Linked DNA regions of Homo sapiens: region 2 is linked to region 1. The links are contacts of gene promoters, found by promoter capture Hi-C in blood cells and fetal thymus (Javierre and others, 2016). All regions are on one chromosome and are shown on one strand. The core of a region is centred on a gene start or on the middle of the fragment in contact, and the rest is flanking DNA. Distances in the headings are between cores, read along the strand shown. Region 1 holds the start of ECE1-AS1 (ECE1 antisense RNA 1). Region 2 holds the start of HSPG2 (heparan sulfate proteoglycan 2).

What was found. Contacts are between HindIII fragments. The CHiCAGO score rates a contact against its expected background, and 5 or more counts as called.
Region 2: the fragment with the promoter of HSPG2 here is called in contact with the fragment with the promoter of ECE1-AS1 in region 1 in 6 of 17 cell types (fetal thymus, naive CD8 T cells, total B cells and 3 more); the score reaches 7.9 in fetal thymus.

What each region holds. Positions count from the first base shown.
Region 1 is chr1:21,287,542-21,294,539 of GRCh38, reverse strand. It overlaps ECE1-AS1 (ECE1 antisense RNA 1), which reads right to left and starts at 1,250. Exons shown (of 3, transcript NR_038404.1): 1 at 797-1,250; 2 at 330-606. It overlaps ECE1 (endothelin converting enzyme 1), which reads left to right and starts at 4,077. Exons shown (of 19, transcript NM_001397.3): 1 at 4,077-4,176; 2 at 4,384-4,470. The coding sequence starts at 4,126. RefSeq lists enhancers at 1-372, 1,214-1,303, 5,072-5,633 and silencers at 3,996-4,175, 4,226-4,395. The HindIII fragment of the contact is 8,029 bases long and covers 1-1,416 here.
Region 2 is chr1:21,931,099-21,938,612 of GRCh38, reverse strand. HSPG2 (heparan sulfate proteoglycan 2) reads left to right here and starts at 1,303. Exons shown (of 97, transcript NM_005529.7): 1 at 1,303-1,458. The coding sequence starts at 1,396. RefSeq lists a silencer at 915-1,264 and enhancers at 2,012-2,853, 6,308-7,070. The HindIII fragment of the contact is 13,080 bases long and covers 1-1,972 here.

The DNA.
Region 1 (6,998 bases), core at 1-2,500:
CTTCCTCTGTGCAGCTGGGGCACCGGGGACTGAGGACGGGGCAGTCCACAGGGAGCTGTGGTTCCACCCCTTCACTCTTGGTTTCTGCCAGGCCCTCCTCTTGAACACTAGACCCAGATTCAACCCAGATTTCTCCTCCACGGCTGCACAGTGCCAGGAAGGGAACTGAGAAGACCAAAGTGGAGGTTCTTTACCTTCCCCAACACACTCGGGGCCAGGCGTGGCACCCACAACTGCAAATGAGACAATTAGGGAGAATAAGTGCTGGCTGCCCTGTCAGCCCAGAGCCTCAGTCTGCCCAGGGCACCCAGACTCTGTGAGGTTCCCACCTGAAGAAGCAGTTCCATCTTCCACAAGGAGCACAGGACCAAGAGTCCAGGACCCAGGTTCGAGGCCCAGCTCTACCACTTTCTCGCCGCGGGGCTCGGGTTCTCTGGAGGCAGCGTAATGGAGTCAGTGGGTTTGGCAAGGGGAAGATTCGCATTATGGCTCCCTCAGTCTCCAGGCAGGTGACTCAGGGCTGGGGGGAGGTCCTTTCTCCTCTCTGACCCTTGGTCATCTCATTTGTAAAGCGGAGGTGATGATTCTCATCTCAGGGACGAGGCACTGTGGGGTTAGGAGAGAATTTGTCAAGTGGCATGGTTGGTTTTTGGTCTGTCTAGGCCCCTCCCCCTCTCTGTAAGCTGGAAGCGGTACTTGTGAGGCTGAGGCTCTAGGTGGGTGTGGGGAGCCATTGGGGTAGTGAATGGAAGGCCCTGGGCGAAGGGCCCCAGGCAGCTGTTGAAATGTCACTCACCCACTGTGGACTTCCCACCAAGCAGAGCCCGCCAAGCCTTTCCCGTCTGAGGTGGGTTCAGTTTCACTACCGGGCTGAGGCAGGCATCTCAGGAAGGGGCCCTCGGCTTTTGTGTGCTGAAAAATAACCAGGCTCCATCTCTGCTGATTTCTGCTTGGGAGTTCCGTGAGCTTCCTGCATCATCTGTCCACAGACAGGCTGCCGCAGGGTGGACATCAGAGTCCCTGGGGTGGCTTCCGGCCTCCCTCCCTTGCCTCCCGCCTTTGCTCAAACATCTGTAGAGGCTCCAGCCCCAGACTAAGCCCTTAAGGAGACAGGGTCCCGTGAGACCCAGCCTCTGCCATCAGGGTTCTCCTGTCTAAAATGCTGTGTGCCTCAGTAAAAGGCAGCATGGGGTAGGGTGGCTGTGTGGGGACACAGAGCCAGGGACCAAATGCTGTCTGGGGTCCCTGGAGGGTGGTCAGGAGAGCTTGCCAGAAGGGGGAAATCTCTGAAATGAGACAGAAGGAGGAGGAGCCATCGCTTAACCACACCTGGGCGAGTTAACTTCCCCAAGCCTCAGTTTCATTCTCTGTAAAAGGAACCAGTGATACCTGCTTCTGAGGGAAGGGTGAGAAGCTTAAAAGAGATGGTATAAAAGAACTGACAAATCCCGTACACCAGCCGGGTGAATCCCTTACACCACCCACATGCCCCGGGGAGATGTTCTGTGAACTGAACTTCTTTTTCAAAAGTCTTTTCCTCTGGCAATCGACACCTGGTAACGTAGTGTAACCAAGTGTCCTGTTCTAGAAAAAGCCCAGCTGCAACCCAGCAGTAAGTGAAGCAGCCTCAGAGTCCCCTCTCTCTCTGGGATGGGTAATGGAAACTCCTCCACCCAGTGGGAGTGAGGCAGAAGTCTCCAGAATTCAGAGCTTTCCCATGCACCCTGCCTCCCCAGGGCCTGTGACCTTTAGATGTGTTCCCTGTTTCTGTAGGCATTATGAAGTTAGATGCAGGAGAGTTCTTGAGAACTTGAAGGCACTTCCCCTCTACTTGTCCCCCCTTTGATTTTAACAACCGTTTGTTGAGCACCTACTCTGTGCCGGGTGATGGAGAGTCTCTGTTGGACAGGCCAGACAAGGTCCCAGCCCCAGTAAAGCTGTGGATTCTGGAGAGGGACAGAGACAGTGATGATAAAGACATGGAAACAAAACAGTCTGCAACAAGTACTGTAAAGGAAAACAAACAGGATGCTGTAACAGAGAATTTGGGGGACTGCTTAGGGTTCCTGGGACATTTGAGGAGCTGGTAGGCTGAGATCTGAAGTTGGAGCTGACCATGGGAAGAGTAGAGAGGAGGAAAAAATGTTCCAGATAGAGACAACAGCAGCTACAAAGGTCTTGGGGGAAGAAGAAACTTGTAGAAACTGAGGAGTTGTGTGAGGAGGTTGGTGGGGGAGGGGGCGCTGGCAGCACAAGATGAGGGCCCAGAGTGGGCAGGGGCCATGGGGCCTGGTGAAGGGTTTGGATTTCATTCCAGGACAGTGGAGGGTTTTTAAGCAAGGGAGTGGTAATATCAGAATTTTTTTTTATTTTATTTATTTACTCAGACAAGATCTTGTTGTGTCGTCCACGCTGGAGTGCAGTGGTGCAATCACAGCTCACTGTAGCCGCCACCTCCTGGCTTCAAGCGATTCTCCCACCTAAGCCTCCCAAGTAGCTGGGACTACAGGCGCATACCACCACGTCCTGCTAATTAAAAATATATAATATATAAATATATATATATATATTTTCTTTTTGTAGAGATGGGGTCCGTGTTGCCCAGGCTGGCCTAGAATTAGACTCAAGTGATCTCCTGCCTCAGCCTCCCAAAGTGCTGGGATTACAGGTGTGAACCACTGAACCCAGCCAGATTTCTGTGGTTTGTTTGTTTGAGATGGAGTCTCACTCTGTCACCCAGGCTAGAGTACAGTGGCACAATCTCAGCTCACTGCAACCTCGACCTCCTGGGTTCAAGCGATTCTTCTGCCTCAGCCTCCTGAGTAGCTAGGATTACAGATGCATGCCACCAGGCCCAGCTGATTTTTTGTATTTTTAGTAGAGATGGGGTTTCATCATGTTGGCCAGGCTGGTCTTGAACTCCTGACCTCAAGTGATCTACCCAACTTGGCCTCCCAAAGTGTTGGGATTACAGGCGCGAGCGAGCCATGGTGCCTGGCCTCAGCCAGATTTCATTTTAAAGGCTCATCCTGGCTGCTGAGGGGGCTGTCAGAGGGCAGGAGTGGAAGCCAGGAGACCATCTGGAGCCATTGCCCTCACTGTCCCTGTGACGTCAGGCCCCTCACCCCTCTAAACCTGTTTATTCACACATATGTGTGACTGTGAGAATCAAATTTGGAATGAGCAGAAATGCACTTTGCAAAGCTGAAAAGTACGCATAAATGCAGGGATTCCCGCCTTGCTAGAAGCGGAGAGTCCTTTGGAAATCTGCTGGGTTAGACCTCTCTGGGGTTCTTGGTTGGGACAGTGCTGGGCCTGAGTCCCTAACTGAACACCTCATATCCGAGAGAGCCCCCTTTCCCTGCCTAGGGTTATAGGAGAGGGCTCAGGGGCTGGGGAGGGGGGCACCTGGCTGAGGCTCCGAGTCTTGAGGGGGAAGATGGGAAAGAAGGGTCCCCTTCCTGGCTTCTGACTCCCCCTGGAGCAATGGTTCTCTTGTGTTGCAGGGAGGGCGACACCTTTGAGCACGGGGGTGACCACCGGACCACCCTGCAGCCATCCAAATGCACACACACAGCTCCTTTCATCCCGTGTCAGGGAGTTCTCTGAAATTTTCTGAAACTCATTCACGAACTCTGGCTTAAAGGCCTCTGAGCTAGAAAGGGGAACTGAAAGGGGACACCTACCTTTTTACCCCACCTTTTTTGTCTGGTCTTTCTAGCATTAACCCCCTAGACACACCTAAGGGCTGATGCCGGGGGGAACCTGTCTTGATTGCTCTGGGCCACATCGAGGGCACCTTCCTGATACTTTTGTTATCTGCCACTGGGGACCCGGTTGTTGAAGGGGGACTTAAGATTTTCTCGAAGGAGGGGTCACTGTGAGGGCCTTTCCTGCCTGCTAGGGGCTTCAGTTTGGGGGCCCCCACTCCCGACCTCCGGGGAAGGGAGGGGTCCCCATCTCCCCCGGGCCTCTCGGGTCTTGGGGTCTCCCCGGGAGGCCGGAGGTTGGGAACCGGGCGCCGGCGAACCGATCAGGCCCCGCCCGCGAAGGTGGTGCAACGCCTGGCCCGGCCCATCCCATCCCGGCCACCCGGGCAGCGGGACCAGGCGTCTGGGGCACAGCATGCGGGGCGTGTGGCCGCCCCCGGTGTCCGCCCTGCTGTCGGCGCTGGGGGTGAGGCGGGCGCGGCCTGGAGGGCGGGGGCGGGAGGCGGGCGGGACCCCTCCCCGCGCGGGCCGCTCCGTGGGCCGGTCTCGGTCTCGGGTGTCCAGGCCGGGGCGGGGCGCGGCGGCGGCGGCGCCAGGGTCGGGGCCGCTTCCCCATTCGGGCGCGAGAGCCATGGAGGCGCTGAGGGAGTCCGTGCTGCATTTGGCCTTGCAGATGTCGACGTACAAGCGGGCCACGCTGGACGAGGAGGACCTGGTGGACTCGCTCTCCGAGGGCGACGCATACCCCAACGGCCTGCAGGTAGGCGCCCTCCGCTCCCTCCCGAGGTCCAGGCGCCCCGGGCCCGGGCATGCGCGCTGCCGCTGCCGCGCCCCCCGCCCCTACCTACCCCGCCTCTTCCCCTCCCTTCCCCTCCCTCGTCCCGGCATCCGGGAGGGGCCGCGCCTCCCCGCAGCTGGAGCTCCGCGCTGAGAAGCCTTCCGGAGCCCACCAGTCTCCCCTCACCTGCCCCCGCCATCCCTAGAGCCTCCCGGCCACCTGCTTCTGGGGCCACAGCCCAGGTGGCAGAGTTGAAAGCACCCCCGAGACCCGAACTGGTCCAGTTCCCTTTCCACAGAAGGCACAGTTTGTGCATGTCCCGGGACTTGCCCAGGCCCTTTACCGGCAGAGTCTACGGCTGTTTCTGTTTTAGCGTGGAAAGCCCTGCATCCCTGGAACCCACTCCCCCAGTCCGGGGCAAACTGGGAAAGTTGGTCACCTTATCCGGGAGGCAGTACCACCCTCTTCCTCTTGCCCTCCCAATACCTGAGTTTCCTGGGGCCAGAAACCTGTTCTCTGCCCCCTCTCCCTGCCCCTTTTCCAGCCTACTAAGGAAGTCCAATTCCTCCCCTCCCCAGGGTCTCCGCCCGTGGGCATCCCATCTGCCCACTCCTGGGGAGGGCCCCACCCCCGTCCCTGCCTTGTAACAGGACATTGAGCAAGGCTGCTTTCTGCCCTCCCGTCCCTGGGGGGCTGCACTGGGACAGTTGTGGCCAAGACCTCAGTGCTGGAGGGGTTTGGAGCCAGCCAGGTGCGTGGGAAGGTGCTGGAAACGCTGCGGACACCCTAGGAGACCCAGTGATCTGGCTCTTGAGAAGCCAGTGTAGAAAGAGGAGCTGGGGCACCCCAATTCTCGGAGGACTTCTGCCAGGTAGACCAAGGGAAGTATTTGGGAGAATCTTGGGGCCACTTGGTGAACTGGCACACAACTCTTCCCAAAGGCGAGCTTAGGATGAATGGACGCTTAGTTGCCAGGCCCACTCCACTCAGATACGCCTCTTAGAAGCGGGAATAATCCTCCCAGCGCAGGGAGACACCATTGATGGAGTTCCTCCTCCAGGGTCACATAGGCCCAGGGGACCCAAACTCACAGTCCCAAGGGCTCTACCCACTGGGATGTGTGGTACCCCTGCTTAACCTTCAGGAACACCCCTGAGACCTGTAGGGATTACTGTCCCCACTTACAGATGTGGAAACTGAGGCTCTGAGAGGGGCAACCACTGGCCTTCGGTCACCGAGCTAAAAATCCGAGAGCGACACGTCAAACCCTGTCTGTCTCAAACCTCTTCCCAGTGGACTCTTCTTAAGAGGCTGAAGCCAGCAGGAAATTAGATTTCTGGGGCAGGTGCTTTTCCCTTCTCAAATCAAAACAGAATCTAATCAGCAATGTTTTTCAGTCTCATCTTCCACAGAAGGGTCTAAATATATCAACACAAAAGCATTTCAGAATTCACAGCAAAGTAATAATGCCATGTTGCTGTTATCCTCACAGCAGCCTGTTTGGGGTATAACCTTTTTCAGATGAAATAGCACATTTCTCTGGGGAGGGCCCCCGGCCAAGCAGGAGGAGCCCCGTCTCTGAAGCCAGCGACCCGGGTTTGAGTTCTTACTCCACTCACGACCTTGGGCTAGTGGCTTAATCTCTTTCAGTGGTGATGGCCTCACTGTGAAATGGATGTTAGAGAAAGTGGATGTCATACATATTATATGCAGCCTGCTAGGATTATTGTTTTATGACCCATGAAGTAAGGGCTGGCGTGGCCACATTATTGATGATAAAGGTGAGGGACAAAGAGAGGTTAGAGACATTCCTGGGGTCACGTCGCTGTTGTCTATGGTTGGAGTTAGTGTCCTGTCCCCAAATGGATACATTTTCCACTTTCCTTGCAGGAAAAGGCAAAGAGGTTATGCAAGGATTTGGGGCATTTTTGTGGGTACCCAGCTTGGCTTGTGTGGTGTTGCCACAACTTCCCCAAAGTGAACATGAAGTAGCCAGTGCTTGCTTTTCTGAGTCAAGGACCCATTCATCTCCATTTATGAGGCAGAGTATTCTATTAATTGAATGTTTTCAATCATTGTTTTTTTTTTTTTCCCCAGTGTAAAAGCTTTATATGCTCACTTGGGGGAGAAAAAAAGATAGTCAAGTATAAAAAGGAATTAAAAACGGAGCAGTAATCCTGCCACTTGGAGATAACGGTTTCTAGTTTTTCACACTTGTATGTATGTATTTTTAAACATAGTTGAGCTCACTGTAAATACACAATGTTATATCCCGCATTTTTCATTCAGCATCTTCTACATTGTCAGAAACTTCCGAAACATGCTGCCATTAAAAATCATAACACCTCATGGTACCAACATATAAAAATATATTTATTCAATCCACTGTAGTTGGACACTTAGGCGCAACTGCTGTCACTCTGTGGGTGACCCATTTTTAGCTTTTCAGATTATTACCTTTGGGCCGGTTGCTAGCGACACAACTTCTCTCTCAACTTTATTTATTTATA
Region 2 (7,514 bases), core at 54-2,553, 640 kb before region 1:
GCAGGGTCTGTCTGTCTGGGCCTGAGTGTGTGAGTTGGTGTGGTTCTGGCTCTGGGGCTGTGATTTATGTGACTCAAAGTTGGTGTGTGAGTGATTTACATGGAAAATGGTGCAGGTGGGGTGGGCAGCTCAGTTCAGTACCCAGTGCCCACTATGAGGCACTGTGATTAGTGGGTGAGAACAGGTAAAAGATACAGGCTGAGGCTGGGTGCGGTGGCTCAATGCCTGTAATCCCATCACTTTGGGAGGGCAAGGCGGGCAGATCACAAGGTCAGGAGTTCGAGACCAGCCTGGCCAACATGGTAAAAACCCCATCTCTATTAAAAATACAAAAATTAGCCAGGCGTGGTGGCACGCCTGTAATCCCAGCTATTCAGGAGGCTGAGGCCGGAGAATTGCTTGAACCCGGAGGCGGAGGTTGCAGTGAGCCAAGATCCCACCACCGCACTCCAGCCTGGGGACAGAGCGAGACTCCTTCTCAAAAAAAAAAAAAAAAAAAAAAACAAGCTGGTAAGCATGTAGGCAATGATGTGGGCCTGTGTGTGAAATGTGCGTGCCTGCGAGGAATCTATGTGAAAAGGCGTCCTCCCGCTCCGTGACTTGTTGGGATGTATGCGTGAGTGAGGGGCTGAGTGTGGTGTGAGGGCTGTCTCCTGTGTCCCTGGTGGAGGTGAGAGTTTGGAAGCGAGTTAAGTGTGCATGTGAGCCGGTGAGGATTGTTGGTACTTCAGAGTTGGGTCCAGAGTGTGAAAGTGTTCCCGGGTAGCGCACAAGTGTGTTCGTGCAGTAAAGTTATGGTGTGAAGGTGTTCTTGGGTGTGGAAGTTGGCGTGCACGTGTGGCGCGGAGCGGCAGCTGCGTGCGTGTGAGCGTGGGAAGGAGATCCCGGGATCTTCAAAAGCTGCGCGAGTGGAGTCGGCCGTGCGGGGCGTGCAGGGGCGTGGAAGTCGGCGGCGCGCGCGGGGAAGCGGGGGAGCCGGGGATCGGGGAGGCGAGAGCGCCTGGCCCGGCGGCCCCATCCCATGCCCGGGCCCGGGCCCCCGGTCCCCCGCCCCGTCCCATCCCATACTCCAGGCCGGGTTTGGCGGGGAGCCGGGCCGGGCCGCGGCCCGCGCGGAGGGGGCTGGGGGCCCAGACAAAGGCCTAGTAGGCTGCGCGGCCGGCTGGGGCGAGCAGAGCCCGCGGCCCGGGGGCGGTCCGTGGGCGGGGCCTGGCGCTCCGGGGAGGGGCGGTTCGGGGGCGGGGCCGGCGCTGCGGGGGCGGGGCGGGCGGGGAGGAAAGGGGGCGGTGGGGAGAGGGCCGCGCTGTCCCGAGCTGGCCGGCGAGCGGGCGGCTGCGGGCGGCGCGGAGCGGGCGGCGCGGAGCGAGCGAGCGAGAGAGCGGCGCGGGCCGGGCCATGGGGTGGCGGGCGGCGGGCGCGCTGCTGCTGGCGCTGCTGCTGCACGGGCGGCTGCTGGCGGTGAGTGTGCGGGGCAGAGGGGCGGGGGGCGGGGGCGGAGGGGCTAGGGGCGCCCCGGTCCCGCTCGCCGCCTCCCGCCAACTTGGCTGGGGCGCCCAAGGCTGCGCGGCGGGGACTCTGGCCCGGGACGGCGGCGCCCGCCGGGGACCCCGGGCCGGCGCCACCCTGCGGCATGGGGCTAATCCAGGGGGGCCACCAGTCAGGACCCTTCGTGGGGCTGGGGGCGGGGCTGGCCCGTGTGGGAGCCCGTGGGTCTCTCGGCCACGTTGCCGAGTGCTGGAGTCTCGCTGGGCATGGTCCGGCCTACCATTCCTGGGGACCAGGAGGGGAAACTTTGAGCAGGGTGGGAACTTGGCAGGACGAGGGAACCCTTCTGCGCCAGCTTGGCAGAACGGCCACTCAGTGGTGATGGGGACCCTATGAGTCTCGCTGAAACTTTACCACACCGTCTATCACCTTGGGGAGCTTGGACCCAGGTAGGCACAAGCAAAACTTTTGGGACAGAACTGAAGCTTGTGTGGAACACCCACGGGCCTTGGAGTCATACAGCCGAAGAGTTGAATCAATCCCTGCCTTTCACTGAGTAACTGTGTGACCTGGGGCACGCTAGTTAACCTCTCTGAGGCCAGCCCCACGTGGGTCAAGGGAACTCAAAATGCACGGCCTCAAAATGCATAGCTGCAGGGCGTTGCTGGACTGCGTGGAATGAGCTGCAAAGTGCGTGGTGCGGGGATGCAGTGCACCCTTGGGGGACCCGAGTTCCCCAGCTTTCCTCTTCCCAGGTCTCCAAGAGGCAGGGAGAGGCCTGCCCTTGCAGTCTAGTCCCCTACTCTGAGCTTAGGTGGAGGAAAAGGGAATTCTACGGTCAGGAATCCCGAGGCTTAGAAGGCACTTGGCCAGCAGAGGCCCTGAGGACCTGAGTGAACTTGAGGAGGACTGGGTGGGGTCGGTGGGCAGGGAGCTAGTGGCAGATGTGGGTGGGGGCACATCTGGGGAGCCGAGCCTACCGTGGGGAGCCACAGAGCCACCCCCACTCTCTCCGAGGTGCTCCTAGGCAGTCCCCATACCTGCCTCCCTGTTCTCTGAGCCAAGAGAGGGACTTTTCTAACCAGGCTGGTGTTTACCCAGGAACTGCCTGCCTGGCCTCACCTTCCTGGCTTCATCGCACCTCTACCCTCCTGAGTCACTCGTCAAGCCCCCACCCAGACCTGGCTCCTCACTGCTCTTGCCCCACCCACCCAGCACTTCTCCTCCCCCATCCCCACTCTGGGCAGCCTCCTCTGTCGTCCTCCTGTTTCAGCCTCTCACCCCAAAATATTCAGCAGGGCCATCCAGTAGCTCCCTAGTCTTGACCTGAACTTGCACTCCTGGCACTGACTTTTACTTTTCCCAACGCACCAACCTAGCACGTGGGATGTTTTCCGAGGCCCAACAGTCTTTCCTGACCTTCCCCCAGCTCTGCCCCCGATGAGGGGCTCCTCCATGCCCGGGTGCGGTAGGATGGCGGTGGGTGGAGTTGTTTGCTGTGTGCATGAGGAATTTCCACAGACATTCCTGGACCGTGGCAGATCATCTCATTCACTTGTTCATTCAACAGATCATCACTGAGCGACATTCCATGGCAGTCACTGGGAGTACAGAGGTTCATTCTTTGGGCAGATATTTGCCATGCACCTACTGTGTGCCAGTGAACCAGTGAACCTCGTGTGGTGCTAGGGGCTGGGGTGGGTTGGACCAGCAAGGACAGGCCCTGTCTGTGCCTTCCCAGCACTCACAGGCTGGTGGGCGGTAATTTAGACAAATAAACAGGCAGCTCCAATCCTGTGGGATTAGAGAGCCTTCTCAGCAACACATGGAGGGTCGCTGTCCCACCCCAGGCTGCTGGTGGTGGGCTGGAAAGAGCTTGGCCCCTGAAGTCTCTTTATAAAATTCTTTTTAAAAAGTTTTTCAGGCCAGGCGCGGTGGCTCATGCCTGTAATCCCAGCACTTTGGGAGGCCACGGTGGGCGGATCACGAGGTCAGGAGTTTGAGACCAGCCTGGCCAACATAGTGAAACCCCATCTGTACTGAAAATACAAAAATTAGACGGGTGTGGTGGCGCATGCTTGTAATCCCAACTACTCGGGAGGCTGAGGCAGGAGAATCGCTTGAACCCAGGAGGCGGAGGTTGCAGTGAGCTGAGACCACACCATTGCACTCCAGCCTGGGTGACAGAGTGAGACTCCGCCTCAAAACAAACAAACAATAAAAAGTTTTTCGGGGCCAGGCGCGGTGGCACACGCCAGTAATCCCAGGACTTTGGGAGGCCGAGGCGAGCGGATCATGAGGTCAGGAGTTCAAGATCAGCCTGGCCAGCATAGTGAAACCCTGTCTCTACTAAAAATGCAAAAAGTTAGCCAGGCATGGTGGCACGTACCTGTAGTCCCAGCTACTCCGGAGGCTGAGGCAGGAGAATGGCGTTAACCCGGGAGGCGGAGCTTGCAGTGAGCCGAGATCGCGCCACTGCACTCCAGCCTGGGCGACAGAGCAAGACTCTGTCTCAAAAAAAAAAAAAGAGGGCATCACACTTTGTTGCCCAGGCTGGTCTCAAACTCCTGGCCTCAAGCGATCCTCTCGCCTCGGTCTCCTAAAGTGTTGGGATGACAGGCATAAGCCATCATGCCTGGCCTGTCTCTGAAGTCTTACAGACCCAAGTATGAGTCTCTGGGCTGCGGTTTCTGGCTGTGTGATCTGGGGCGAGTTCCTCTCTCTGAGCCTTAGTTTCCAAATCTGTACAATGGGGTTGAGGAGTTTGTTGCAAGTCAAAAATGAGATCAATTCCTAGCCCAGGCTCCCAGCACACCTTGGACCCTCTTTGCCTGCTACCCTTGCTCTCATCTGCCCTTCAGTTTGGTCCGGAGCCAGTGGCTTATGGGGAAGGGTTGGGCACAGCAGCAGGGTGAGATGGGCCTTAGGGAGCTCCAGGCTTCCCCGGGACGGGGGACAGGACCACAGGAAGCTGATCTGTGATTAAGTGTGGGTGTAATTTCAGCTGTTGGGAGGTGAGGAGGCTTGCTGGAGGAGGGGGCTGGGCCTGGGTGACTCGGCAGGCCTTGGCCTGCTGACCCCTTTAGGGCGGCCCTGCAGGGGACAGGCGTCTTGAGGGAGCCTCGGTGGTGATTAAGGTGTTTTCCAGGGCCTAGGAGGGAAGTCGCTGAGATACCTGTTTCCTGCCTCAGCTGGATTTCCTCACTGGGGAGGCTGCCAGCTGAACTGCAGGAGCCTCCCCTTCCTGGCGGTCCCTCAGCCCTCCTCCACGCAGCCAGCTGCTCTGTCACCTGACACTAGCCTACTTGTTCCGTACCTGCAGCCGGCACAGGATGGGGTTTTGAGTGTGCCCTGGACATTCCCGGAGGGAAGGAGGGCAGGCTGCAGGTCTGTCTGCAGGGTAGAAGCTGGAAGGGGCAGAGATGGACCACCCCCCCATCCCTTAGGCCCATTTCCCCCTGTCTGGGGAGTTGTGGCCCCTGCCTGGCTTGGCCCGGGCCTGCTCTCAGGCTGAGCGCAGACAAGTTAGGATCTGTGGGTCTGAAGCCCTGCCCGGGAGACGGTGGAAAGAAGGTGGCAGGAGGTGACTGGGTTCAGGGCCCGGAAGACGGGTGAGCAAAGTGGAGGGGAAGGAGCTCTTGGGGTGCCAGGCTGGATGATGACACAGTAATACGGGTACTTCAGACTTACCCAGTACCCACTGTCTGCTCTGAGTTTCTCAGTGAATCCTCCCATTCACCTGTGTTTCCTGCTCACCACCTCCCTGCGGTGCTCAGAATTAGGTCCCAGCCCCTGACTTAATATAGCCTACGAGGCCCTGCAACACCCGGCCTCCTGCCACCTGCTCCTCTCAAACTCCTCCAGCTATACCAGTCTTTGTTTCTTTTTCTTTTCTTTTTTTTTTTTTTGAGACAGGGTCTCACACTGTCACCCAGGCTGGAGTGCAGTGGCACAATCACAGCTCACCGCTGCCTCAACCTCCCACGCTCAGGTGATCCTCCCACCTCAGCCCCCTGAGTAGCTGGGACTACAGACACCCTCCTCTACACCTGGCTAATTTTTGTATTTTTTATAGAGACAGGGTTTTGCCATGTTCCCCCAGGCAGGTCTCGAACTCCTGGGCTCAAATGATCCACCCCCTTCGGCCTCCCAAAGTGCTAGGATTATAGGCGTGAGCCACTGCACCCAGCCTTTTCTTTTCTAATGAATATAAAAATTTAAAACAAATAGAGATGGGATCTTGTTGTATTGCCCAGGCTGGTCCCAAACTCTTTAACTCAAGCTATCCTCCCACCTCAGCCTTCTGAAGTGCTAGGATTATAGGCATGGGCCACCTCGCCTGACCAAGGCTTTGTTTCTTGAGCATGTGAAACACACTCCCACCTTAGGGTCTCTGCGTCTGCTGTTCCTTCTGCCTGGGACATTTGTCCCCGTAATATCCATATGACCCTCTCCCTCTTTCTGGTCCTTACCACTCTTCCCATAATGGCTGTCTCCTTAAACTGCTTTATTTTTGTTCTCACAATTGTCTGGCCTGTATTTGTCTGTATTTGTTTATGTGTTTATCTGCTTCCTCCTGCTCAGTTTAAGTTCTACGAGAGCAGGACCTCATTTGTTTTTGTTCACTGCTGTATGCTTAGCACCTGGCAGGTAGTAAGTGCTTAGTGAATATCTTTGTCGAATGTTTTAAGCTGTAGCTACTAGCCTGATCCCCATTCTCTAAGCAGAGGACATTGAGGCACTGAGAGGTTACGTAACTTGCCCAGTGACTTACATATCCACACACTCAGAGATGCTGCAAGCCAAGTTTTGAATCCAGACGAAGCTCTCCTAATCACGCCACGTACTGCCCCATGTGCTTGTCGTGGGCAGTCAGTAGATATTGCTACAACTTGTCACAGATGTTGATTAAGAACTCTGGTCCCAAGTAGTACAGGGGCTACCTCAGGCAAGGAATATCAGGGATTGGCTCGGGGACAGAAGCTCTTAGGTTGGGTATGCCTCAGTGTCCGTGGGGTCTCCTAGGGACGCCTGTGCCTGGAGGGGAAGCCTAGGAACTCTAGGGTGGTCATTTTTAGGTTTGTTAATTCATTAATGTTCTCATCAGATATTTCCTGGGACTCTACAGGCAGTTGAATTTATCCAGGGACTTTTAGGCCTGAGTGGGCCAGGCTGGCCCTGCCCAGTGTGGGAGGTCAGGGGCCCCTGCCCCTGCCATGCTGCTAGTGGGGGAAGGGGAAGAACACCCTCCTGGTTGTCCTGTGTGGAGCCTGCGCTGTTTTTTTCTGGCTGTTCCCTGGGGGCTCAAGGTTTAGGGTGAGTCTGCAGAGCTTCAAGGGCTGCCTGGCCTTGGGGTGAGAGGCTCAGGAGGGAGGGCAGGAGGGCCTGCCCAGGCTATGGAAAGATCTGGAGCAATGATTCAGAGGCCACTTGGAGGCCAGAGGTGTGGGCTCTGCACCCTCAGACTACTTGGGGTATATGGGAAGGGTTCCCAGCCCTGGCCTGTTGCCCCCCTCCCCTTCACCCAATCCAGTCCCAGCTATGAGGGGTCAGACTGGAGGAGGAAGTGAATATGACTTGGTTCCCCGGCAGCTTCCCAAGTATCTGCTGGGCCTACCTCTCCCTGTCCCAGGGCCTACCCTGGCCTTTTTCTCCTCTCGCTCCTGCTCCTGCCAAGAAGAGGGAGGCTGCGCCGAGGGTCCCGGCCCTGCTGGAATGTTGCTTCCGCCTGGGCCTTGGCCTCTTTGGCCCTGCCACCCCCTCCTGCTCCCGGGGCCAGCTGCCCCAGCACCCAGAGCTGGCTGACTGAAACCCAGAAGTATGTGTGGAACTCACTTCGCGGGGAGCCGCCGGCCTCACTGCCCAGCCTGGTGGCGTCAGGGCTGTGTCAATAGCAGCCTTGAGAGGGGTGTGGCTCGTGGCTGCTGGGGTGGCCGGGTCGGGGGTGCTGTCATGAAAGCCCTGAGAACAAGGTGGCTCTTTGAGGCCTGGGAATGTGAGGCCTTTGAGTCTTGCTGCCCCCAGAACCA